Regions from separate parts of the Homo sapiens genome. Here regions 2 and 3 are each linked to region 1. The links are contacts of gene promoters, found by promoter capture Hi-C in blood cells and fetal thymus (Javierre and others, 2016). All regions are on one chromosome and are shown on one strand. The core of a region is centred on a gene start or on the middle of the fragment in contact, and the rest is flanking DNA. Distances in the headings are between cores, read along the strand shown.

Region 1 (3,675 bases), core at 1-2,500:
GGACACTGGGGGTATTATGGTGGCTAGAACAACACTTCTGACCTCATGGAGCTCACTCTTCTGGGGAAGAGACAGATGGTAAGCAGATGTGTACAACCTTGGGTGGTGCTAGAGTCAGCGAAGAAAAATTAGAGCACATGAGGGGTGAGATTGTAATGATGGCAAGGGGCTGTTGCACTTAGTGGGGTTAGGTTCTTGTTCTTGAATCAGCCTTAGGGGTTGTGTATTTGGAGACTCCCTAGCGCAGAAACTTTGGTGTTCCTGGATGACTAGGATGGTGTGCAGGTCCAGGGAAAGGCAGGAGTGGCCCCCTGGGCACCTGTTTGACCACTTATCCCAGTAGTGTCAGGTCCTAGCCTAGCTTCTTGGCCAGAGACCACAGCAGACTCACCTTGGGACCCCACTGAGGACTTACAGAGGCAAGGTCTTCAGGGAAGGGGAGGTTCTTTTTTTCCAAAACTCCAAGGGTTATTTTGATGTTGTTTTCCTTTTTTATTTCACTTTACAAATTTTTTTTATTTACGTTTATTCCTGGTAACTCACAGTGTATTTTTATAATAAAGGAAGGATCTCTGTTTAATGGAAAAGCTTGATTTTTCTCTTGATCTTCAAATGGTGGATGGTAGTAAACTCAGAAGCTCCTGGAATTTCATTTTCTCTGTACACACATAGCGCATCCCTGAATTCTCAGCCCCGTTTGCTGTGTAATAATAATAGTGGTCTTTTGCCGAGTGCCTCCTTCTGTGGGCCAGGCATGCTGGGACCCAGTAGCTTCACTGTCCCGTGGCTGTGGGCAAGGTAAAGTACTCCTCAGCTTTAGTTTTTCAATCTTTCTTTTTTCTTTTTGAGACAGAGTCTTGCTCCGTTGCCCATGCTGGAGTGTAGTGGCGCCATCTTGGCTCACCACAACCTCCGCCTACTGGGTTCAAGATATTCTCCTGCCTCAGCCTCCCAAGTGACCGGGATTATAGGCGCCCGCCACCATGCCCGGCTAATTTTTTGTATTTTTAGTAAAGATAGGGTTTCACCATGTTGGCCAGGCTGGTCTTGAACTCCTGACCTCATGTGATCTACCCACCTCGGCCTCCCAAAGTGCTGGGATTACAGGTATGAGCCACCGTGGCATGGTGGCTCAGCCAGGTTTTTCTATCTTTAAAATAACAATAACAGGCATTTCTCTTCTCACTGGTTTGTTTTGAGATTTTGACATTTAAATGAGATGTGTGTAAAGTGCTACAGTAGGCCCCAGCGCCTGCCATTTCTCACATATGTATGTGAAGTGGGCATGTCTCCTCATTATAAAGAAGAAAACAGGCTGGAGCAGTGTGTGTCGCTCAGATGTCAGCTATGTGGACTGTTACAAGACATTTTCCTAGATTGCTGTACTTGTGAGTCATTCTGCCTGTCCCTGTCCTTCATTTCAACCTGTCCTTGGGTGGGATTGCACTCTTGTTTCTTGTAGGTGCTGGAAAGTCCCTGGTTGGTGTGACTGCTGCATGCACTGTCAGAAAACGCTGTCTGGTGCTGGGCAACTCAGCTGTTTCTGTGGAGCAGTGGAAAGCCCAGTTCAAGATGTGGTCCACCATTGACGACAGCCAGATCTGCCGGTTCACCTCCGATGCCAAGGACAAGCCCATCGGCTGCTCCGTTGCCATTAGCACCTACTCCATGCTGGGCCACACCACCAAAAGGTCCTGGGAGGCCGAGCGAGTCATGGAGTGGCTCAAGACCCAGGAGTGGGGCCTCATGATCCTGGATGAAGTGCACACCATACCAGGTAAGCAGGCTGGAGCTGAGCTGTCCACTTGCTGAACAGACAAACCAATTTCCAGTTGTTAGGTTGGGAAAGGGACTGCTGTGTAGCCCACCCAACTGGCTAGAAAGACTTGCTGGCTTGCTGGGTAAAGCTTTTAATAGTTCTTTTTTTTTTTTTTGAGAGGGAGTCTCACTCTGTCACCCAAGCTGGAGTGCAGTGGCACGATCTCAGCTCACCACAACTTCCACCTCCCAGGTTCAAGCAGTTCTCTGCCTCAGCCTCTGAGTAGCTGGGATTACAGGCACCTGCCACCATGCTAGGCTAATTTTTGTATTTTTGTAGAGACAGGGTTTCCCCATCTTGGCCAGGCTGGTCTTGAACTCCTGACCTCGTGATCCACCCACCTCATCCTCCCAAAGTGCTGGGATTACAGGCGTGAGCCACCGTGCCCGGCCAGTAATTCTTAAGTGGGATGCAGGCAGGAGTGTTCACATTCACAGTTTGCTTAATCACTGGCTCAGTAGTGATTTAGAAAATGATATTTTCTTTCCTCCATCTTCCTTTTGCTGCTCAGCTTCATCCGTTTTTTAATGGCCCTCTAAAAACTGGGTTAGGAGCACTGAAAAGCCCTTCCCAAAATGGTGGTGATGTGTTTTATTTGAAGCCCGGAATATTGATCCTTAGTCAATATGTAATAGAAGCCCTACTTCTCCAAGTATCATGGGCAAACCTTTTTTTTTTAAGCTGCTCTATTGATTTAATTTATATACCATAAAATCACCCCTTGTAAATATATAATCCAATGAGTTTTAGTAAATTTGTGGACCAGTGCAACCATGACCATGATCCAAGTTTTCTTTTCTTTTTTTTTTTGAGATGGCATCTTGCTTTGTTGCCCAGGCTGGAGTGCAGTCGTGTGATCTTGGCCCACTGCAACCTCCGCCTCTAGGGTTCAACTGATTCCCCTGCCTCAGCCTCCCAAGTAGCTGGGACTACAGGTGTGTACTACCACACCCGGCTAATTTTTTTTTATTTGAGACAGTTTCGCTCTTGTTGCCCAGGCTGGAGTGCAGTGGTGCAATCTCAGCTCACTGGAAGCTCTGCCTCCCGGGTTCAAGTGATTCTCCTGCCTCAGCCTCCCGAGTAGCTAGGATTACAGGTGTGCGCCACCATGCCCAGCTAATTTTATATTTTTAGTAGAGACAGGGTTTCTCCGTGTTGGTCAGGCTGGTCTCAAACTCCTGACTTCAGGTGATCCGCCCACCTCAGCCTCACCCTGGGATTACAGGCGTAAAGTACCACACCTGGCCAAATTTTTGTATTTTTAGTAGAGAAAGGGTTTCGCCATGTTAGCCAGGCTGGTCTTGAAGTCCAGACTTTAAGTGATCTGCCTGCTTGGGCCTCCCAAAGTACTGGGATTATAGACGTGAGCCACTGCATTCGGCCACCATGATCCAGTTTTAGATTTCCTTTGTACTCATTTGCAGTCAATCTTTGTTTCTCTATCTAGCTTCAGATGACTACTGAACTGCTGTCACTATAGATTTGCTTTTTATGGAAAATTTATATAAACACAATCATACAATATATATTATGTCTGGCTTCTTTCACTTCCCATAATGATTCATCTGTGCCTTAGCATTTATCAGTAGTTTGTTCCTTTTATTGCTGTATAGTTTTTTGGGCGAATCTTTTTTGATAAAAACAGATTAAGGGATTAAGATTAACAAATTAGGAGTGGGCATGGTGGCTGACACCTGTAGTCTCCTAGCACTTTGGGAGGCCAGGGCAGGAGGATTGCTTGAGCCCAGGAGCTTAAGATTAGCCTGGGTAACATAGTGAGACATGTCTCTACAAAAAAAAATTTTTTTAATTAGCCAAGTGTGGTGGTGTGCACCTGTGGTCTCAGCTGCTGAGGA
Region 2 (3,657 bases), core at 53-2,552, 130 kb before region 1:
CACACTGCCTGCCTAGAAAGCAGCTCCAGAATGCAGTGGAGAGGGTGCCAGGATGTTTGTGTCCTCCCTGGGGACAGTGGGGTGGCTGCCTCTGCCGGTCTGATGACTGGGCTGAGAATATTAGCTAACGTTGATTGGACACTCATGGTGTCTTTCAAACAATTTTTACAGGATTCACAGGGCAGGCCATGAAGCCAGACTGCACGGTGCAAATTCCAGCTCCAGCACTTACTGGAGGGCAATGTTGGGCAAGATGCTTAACTGCTCCATGCCTCAGTTTCCTCATTTGTAAAATGGATGGAATAACGTGGTGTATCTGTGCCTTAAAGGGTGTTGTGAGAATTAAAGGAGTTAGTCCACATAAAGCTCTCAAAACAGGCTTTGCACATAGCTCATGCTCAGTAAACATGAGATATTATGACTTCAGTTAAGGCTCACAACCACCCAAGAGGTAGTTATTAATGCTGTCAACCCCATTTCATAGAGGGGGAAACTGAGACTCGGAGGAGTTAAGTGGTTTATTAAAAATCCAACCCTTGCTGGTCTCCGTTGATTGCACAGGGAAGTCACCAACCCAGGGGATCGATCAGATTCTGTCCCCCATCCTCCAGGAGTAGGGTCTCACACCATCAGTACACTGCAGGCACCAGACTCGGAAGACTGAGGCAAGGTCCTGGGTCTCCATGTTTACATCCATGCATTACTCGCAGAGCCAGGACTCAAGGCCAGGCCTGTGTGGTTTTAGGCCTGGAAATTCAACCCCTGCCCCAAACCACCAGGTGCTCCAAAAGGCCACAGAGATAGCCCTGGTGGCCAGAGATCAAGGAACCCTCCCCAGTGGATAGGCCACGTGGCCCTCTGCACACCCTACCGGACCCTGCTCTCCATTCTTGCCGACTCCCTCTGAGGCCACTTCTGAGATTTGTTCAAATCCGACACCCCCAAAGGTGGAAGTGGGGTGGGGAGAATGGAGGGTCCTGGGCTCCAAACTGTCTGTTGGAATGGCCCTGGGCCCTGGGGACCCTTGGCCTGGAAAGAGGGAGGCGCATGGCAAAGGGACCTGAGACTGTGGCTGCCAGGCCTGGCCTGTGGAGGGCCTTGTGTCCTTTCACCCCAAGCTCAGGCTTGTTGAGCACCCTGGCTGGAGGATTCAGCCCTCATCACCACCTAGCTCTCTTCTCCCGGGGGCAGCCCTCCCTCCACACCCCTCATAGACCTGCCTGGAGGGGGACTCACAGGGGCGGGTCGTGGAGATACTGCAAGTTCGCCGTCCTGCCGCCATGACAGCCTGGAGTTCGAGTTAATCCATAACCACAAATATTTGCTTGGCCCTCAGCACTGAGGCCTCCCTCTCCATAGACAAACAGTGGCACTAGCACTCCTGGTCCTAGCTCAGCACGGCTTGTTCTGCCCGAAGCCCACCTCTGCCCACCAAGGATGCCGTCCAGCAGGGAGGGAGGTGAGGGCAAAACCCTTGACAGATGTGGTCTCATTTTAGCCCCATAGTGGCTGGCTGAGGGAGGAACGTTGTCCCTGTTTTTCAGATGGGGACATTTTTGCCCAGAGATATTATAGTTTGCCCAAGATCAGCACAACAGGTAATATTCCATATTTCGTCAAATCTAAAATACCATTAATTATAAGACACATGTATTTATGTGCCACCATACAAGAAAAAAGACGCTGTCCCAATGACATGCCATCCCAATTTCTGATACATAAAATCATGAGAAGATGCTCCTTTTTGGGTCCCCAGTGCATAGGTGCTGGGCACTGGGCTCCACCCTCACCTCCAATTGCTCACAAATCACCCCCAATCCCCACCCCCAACACACACACACAATGGCACATAGCATCCCTCTAACCTCTATTTTTCAGGTAAGGACACTCAAGTTTTGTGTTACTCGCCCAGATTCACTGAGCTGGTAGTTGGCAGATTTAATTTGAACTCAGGTCTTGCTGCTTCCATTTGGCCCCTTTTGTGGACCAGTAAGAAAAATGAACGGGATTCCAGAAAGGCTGCAGCAATTTCCTGGCCGGGGTGCCAGAAGGGAGAAGGGCAGAAATAAAGGGTCCAGCTCAGCACCTTTGCCTGTGTCCTGCAGTCTATCAGCATTTATTAAGCGTCTTCCTGCTCCGAACCGGGCTGCACCAGAGATGCCCCCCTTTCCTCCCTGCCCTACCTGTTCCTGGGAAGACTTGCCCACGTTCCTTCTCCAAGTCTGCACCTCTAAACGGGGCATGTGACCCTGCCTCGCTGGCTTCCATTGATTGCACAGGGAAGTCACCAACCCAGGGGATTGATCAGAGGAGTAGGGTCTCACACTGTCAGTACACCATAAGTACCAGACTCGGAAGATTGAGGCCAGGTCCTGGGCATCCATGTTTACGCTTAAAGCAGAGGAAGCTGATGAGAAGGAAGATGCAGGTGTGCAGAGGGGGACTGAGGCCACGGACACCTAGAGAGTCCCAGGGAGCAGCGGAAGGAGGCCCCTGCCTCCTTATGATTGGTGGCACATCCTGGCTTCGGGTGCAGGAGGGTCCCCATGCCCTCCTAAAACCCTATTCCTCCTGAAGTTTCTTTAAATTGGCTGGAACAGCTTGTGTTGATTGTAACCAGATGCCTCCTGCTGAGGCACCACACCATGCTGGGCTGTGGTGGTACCAGGCCCTCCTAGAGGAACAGGGTAAAACTCTAACACTCTAACAAGTCAGGCCCACCTTGCCCAGGGGCAGGTACACATAGGAAATGCTTACAGAATTCAGAGGAGAGGGCAATCAGTACAAGCTGGCATAGCCAGGGGAGGCTGCCTGTAGGAGGTGACACTTCAGCTGGACATCAAAGAGCAGACAGGAGGAAAGACATCCCCCCCAACCCCACCCCAGGTTGGGAGACAGTGGGGAGACACAGAACACAAGCAGTCAGGAGGTGCTAGGAGGGGTGGAGGTGGAGAGGAGGTGGAGGGTGAGGCAATGGATTTTGAAATCGAGACTATGAGAAGTGGAGAACCAGGAGCTGTTTGTGACAGGCTGTGGCAGCTGCCTAGAAAAGCAGAGACAAGCTTCTGGGAACTCAGACAGGAAGCATGAAGACCCCATGCACAACCACAGAAGGCACCAGCTTGTATGTCCCTGTTTGCTTCAGGCGTCGCCCCCGCAAGTCTGCAGAGATCACTGCCCTCTGCTTTGCCTTCCAGGTGCAAGATGTTGTGGGTATTCTTTTGGCGCCGCTTCCCTTCCCCACCAACTTCTCGCCCTCTACTCCTCCCCACCCCAGCACAGGCAGCCGCTCCAGGGCAAGTCTATGCAGGCTCCACACACTGATTCTGACCTGCATAAATGGACTCTGCCCGGGGCACCCATGTCCAAACCAGCCCAGGTGCCCAAAGCACCGGCACCGGTACGAGCCAGGGCGGCTGCAATGCTCCCAAGTGCCCAGTGCTGGGGGTTGGGGGTGCCACGGCTTGGCAGGCTGCCCAGAGGGCGGAAGGGTCCTCTGCAGAGCTCTGCACGCCTGTCGGCCGACGGGGACTCTGCACGGCGGGCTGCGTCACGGCCGCCTCATCGGCTGGCAGCGCAGGAAACCCCGTCACCTTCTCGAGGTAGGGACAGTCCTGCCGCCAGCCGTTCCTGCGATCCCAGGGTCTCTGCAGTTAC
Region 3 (3,996 bases), core at 1,206-3,705, 180 kb after region 1:
ATCCCTCTAATGAACACTTCCGTTGCTTCCAATTTTTCTGTCAAGCGATATTTAGAAACACCAGAGTCCAGTGAAGCAGAATCTCCCACTGTTCCCTGGGGGCTGACTGTAATGCAATTTGACTTTGCTCATTTCCTCCTTTCCTCAGAGGAGTGTTGGAAGAAATCACTTTTAGAGAATGGTTAGAAAAACGACCAACAGAAAATGAGGAGGAAGGAGATCATGAGCTGAAAGCATGTTGAGCTTTTAGGAGGAAGCTGCTTTAGAAGCCCAGACTGTGTAGGTTTTGCTTTTGTGACTCACAAATCGGGCATGAGTTTATAATAATTTTGACAGATGCTTTTCACTCATGCAGCGCTTGGTGCTTTTGAGGGCATTGGTGCAGGAAGGCTTGATGCAGAATCTCTGCTTATCATTTGCTGTCTGTGTGACCTACATCAGCGGCGCCTCAGTCTGTCTTCCTGCAGAATAAGAATACAGTCAGCCCTCTGCATCTGTGGGTTGGGCATCCATGGATCCAACCAACTGTGGACTGAAAATATTTGGAAAAATACAATAAAAAGTAAGACTACAACAATAAAATAATATAAATAAAAAACAAGGCCGGGCACGGTGGCTCACACCTATAATCCCAGCACTTTGGGAGGCCAAGGCGGGAGGATCACGAGGTCAGGAGATGGAGACCATCTTGGCCAACATGGTGAAACTCCGTCTCTACTAAAAATACAAAAATTAGCTGGGCATGGTGGCACGTGCCTGTAGTCCCAGCTGCTCGGGGGGCTGAGGCAGGAGAATCACTTGAACCCGGGAGGCAGAGGTTGCAGTGAGCCCAGATTGCGCCACTGCACCCCAGACTGGCGACAGAGTGAGACTCTGTCTAAAAATAAATAAATAAATAAATAAAAAATACAGCGTTAACAACTATTTACATAGTATTTAAATTGTATTAGCTATTACAAGAATCTAGAGATAATTTAAAGTATTTTGGAGGATTTGTGTACGCTATATGCAGATACTGTGTCAATTCATATGAGGGACTTGAGCATCCCTGGATTTTGGTATCCACGGATGTGCTGGAACCAGTCCCCTGGGGGATACCGAGGGACATCATGATAATAGGCCCGGAAGAGGACAGACGAACACACTGGGCCATGGGGCAGCACTGAGCGGTGGTGGAAGAACCCCGAGTAGCCGGAGAAAGAGCAGGAGGGCCTTCCAGGGAAGAGGGAATGGCCTGTGTGAACCCAGGCTGAACCTCTCATTCCTGGGACTCGATTTCTCCATTTGTACAAACTGCTTGGTTTGTGGTCTGCAAGAGCCCTTCCTGTTCCTCCAGGAAGCCTCTCAGGGACCTCTGTCCCTGGCCAGCTCTGCTCCTCTGACCGCTGCGGGTCCTGCAGGCCATAGCCCTGGCTCCTGTGTGTGCACCAGACACGTCTAGGCCTCTTCAGCGGGACCTATCTCTCTGCTCAACTCAATCAACAGTTCTTTAGAAATTTCCAGGGGCAGCAAAGTGCTGTAGCCCCTGACATGTTTTAGGGCTGAATGGGGGTGGGTATCAGCAGACTCAATACGTATTTATTAACTTAAAAGAAGTGTCATTGGTCTATTGGCAAAGCTGGTTAGCAATAACCTTATCTTCTCCAGGAATAATGATCACTAATCATTCCTTCCTGCTGGGGGTAGGAGACAACCCGGCGTATGGTGGTGGAGCACCTGGGAGACAGAGGCAGAGATCTCGTTCCTCGATCCCGGCGCGTTGGTTGTAAAGTAGGAACAGTAATAGCACCTACCTCTAGGGCCACGGAGACCGAATGAAATAATGCCTGTCAAGTCACTTAGTACACAGTAAGCACTCAGTAATGCTAGGTTGTTGTTATTATAATAAATTTTTAGCGAACGGGAAGACCAAGCACCGGTTGGTACTGGGCTAGGCGCCGTAGGCAAAGATGTGGAGATGTCCCGGAGGCGCCTAGGGTATCCGGGCGAAAACCCGAGGGCCGAAGGCTGGGAGGAGGCGGAGCGTCGGGCACCGGGCACCGGGCACCGGGCGGGAGGTGAGCCCCTGGAAAAGGAGGGGGCTCCGGGCGCGTTCTCCCAGCAGCCGCGGCTCCTCTGTTCAGGGCCGCGCCCCCTTCGCCGCACTTTCTCTTTGATTTCGAAAGCACTCCTCTCCTCCACCTAGTCTCCTTTCCTGGGTTGCAGGAGATTACTGCTTGCGGGGAAGACCAAGACGCCAGGCCGGCGGATTAGTCCCCGCCCCGGGGCGGTGCAGCTGGAGCGTCAGGGGAGTCCCGCTCGCCGCAGCCCCAGCGCCGCGCGCGCCCCTCCCTCCTCGCGGACCTGGCGGTGCCGGCGCCCGGAGTGGCCCTTTAAAAGGCAGCTTATTGTCCGGAGGGGGCGGGCGGGGGGCGCCGACCGCGGCCTGAGGCCCGGCCCCTCCCCTCTCCCTCCCTCTGTCCCCGCGTCGCTCGCTGGCTAGCTCGCTGGCTCGCTCGCCCGTCCGGCGCACGCTCCGCCTCCGTCAGTTGGCTCCGCTGTCGGGTGCGCGGCGTGGAGCGGCAGCCGGTCTGGACGCGCGGCCGGGGCTGGGGGCTGGGAGCGCGGCGCGCAAGATCTCCCCGCGCGAGAGCGGCCCCTGCCACCGGGCGAGGCCTGCGCCGCGATGGCAGAGATGGGCAGTAAAGGGGTGACGGCGGGAAAGATCGCCAGCAACGTGCAGAAGAAGCTCACCCGCGCGCAGGAGAAGGTGAGCGAGCCGGAGCCCCAGCAGCCGCGGAGTCCCAGCCGCCGCGGAGCCCCGGCCACCTGTCCCCCTATCCTCCGACCCCGGGGCCTGGTCCTTCGCCAGGATCTGGTGCTGTCACCTCTAGAGGAGCGCTTTCGAGGGGCTTCGAGGTCCCCAGGCTGCGTTCCCCGGCGCTCTGGGTGCCCTCTTAGGTTTGCGTCCTCTGTCTCCCCACACCCGGCCGGGGCAGGACAGGGCCCCGCTTTGCACCTTCGTGGCTCGGCTGCACAGCAGTGGCCGGCCCTGCTCCAGGCTCTTCTCAGGCGCGCGCTCCAGGCTACCCCGCTTTGGAGGCCAAGGGCCGGGAGGCTGGGAGGCCAGGTGGTGACCCTCAGCTCTCCAGGCCCATGCAGGCAACCTAGGCTGGGCCGGCGCTCGGGGCGAGAGGGAGTATGTCCCTCTGCCCCTGGGGACACTATTCCCCCGGACTCCCAAGGCTGCTTCTCGAACCGGCACCCACAGTTCCTTCCTTCCCACTGCTTCTCCACTTTCGTTCTCCGTGGGCCGAAGGAGGGATTGGGTTTCCTTTCCCGAGAGGTGCCTGCGGCCTGGAAGCTCCCGCCCAGCCCGGCCCCACCGGGAGCCCAGGGCTACGCACCCCGCAAGGAGGTGCCCTCGCCCCAGCAGGGGCTTAGCGTTTCCGGCGGCCGGGGAGCGGGTGGCGGCACTGGCTTTGGGAGCCCACGGCCGGGTGGGGAGCTGGCCTGGAGGAGGCGCGTGGAAGGCGCCACAGGAAACCCGACCCCTCCTCGCGGAGAGCTGGAATGGGGGATGGAGCCGGGGCCTCCCAGGGTGCCCAGAGCGTGCAGGAAATGCAGAGATTGAGGGGCGGGGGTCTGCACCCGGTCAGTTGTCTATCCCAAGCCACCTCTGGTTTATTGAATTGGATCACGCCAGCTGCTGACGCCACTTCCCCTGACGACTCCAACTCTGAAATCTGAGATTGCAGAATCTGTGTTTCTGCCAGGGTGGCCCCCCAGTGCCCCGCGGCCAGGCCTGCCCCCTCTCCCACCCGCTGCGCGGCCGCCGGGTGGAGGCGCAGGGACAGGCCGGCCTTCCCCTGCCAGGCCTGGTGGCTGTTTATAAACAATGACTTTTGCTTCTGAGACCCGCGGGCTCCCTAAGGATGCAACCACGTGATTGCTGGGGGATGGGGGAGAGGGGGGCGCCTAGAGCTTCCCCATACCTCCCTCAGAGTCCTACTGCTC

What was found. The method cuts DNA at HindIII sites, captures the fragments that hold promoters and counts their contacts. A CHiCAGO score of 5 or more calls a contact.
Region 2: the fragment with the promoter of PROC here is called in contact with a fragment that was not itself captured in region 1 in 1 of 17 cell types (total B cells); the score reaches 5.4 in total B cells.
Region 3: a contact is called between the fragment with the promoter of BIN1 here and a fragment that was not itself captured in region 1, in 2 of 17 cell types (M0 macrophages and M1 macrophages). The highest score is 5.9, in M0 macrophages.

The regions. Positions count from the first base shown.
Region 1 is chr2:127,284,805-127,288,479 of GRCh38, reverse strand. It overlaps ERCC3 (ERCC excision repair 3, TFIIH core complex helicase subunit), which reads left to right. Exons shown (of 15, transcript NM_000122.2): 8 at 1,463-1,777. Among named protein-coding and RNA genes, the nearest start is that of ERCC3, 7.5 kb to the left of the region's middle. The HindIII fragment of the contact is 1,319 bases long and covers 591-1,909 here.
Region 2 is chr2:127,416,072-127,419,728 of GRCh38, reverse strand. PROC (protein C, inactivator of coagulation factors Va and VIIIa) reads right to left here and starts at 1,302. Exons shown (of 9, transcript NM_000312.4): 1 at 1,237-1,302. RefSeq lists enhancers at 3,139-3,198, 3,579-3,657. The HindIII fragment of the contact is 16,432 bases long and covers 1-3,064 here.
Region 3 is chr2:127,105,613-127,109,608 of GRCh38, reverse strand. It overlaps BIN1 (bridging integrator 1), which reads left to right and starts at 2,455. Exons shown (of 19, transcript NM_139343.3): 1 at 2,455-2,749. The coding sequence starts at 2,666. It overlaps LOC105373605 (a long non-coding RNA gene), which reads right to left and starts at 2,464. Exons shown (of 4, transcript XR_923311.4): 1 at 1,794-2,464. RefSeq lists silencers at 2,328-2,387, 2,222-2,516, 2,398-2,607. The HindIII fragment of the contact is 12,156 bases long and covers 1-3,996 here.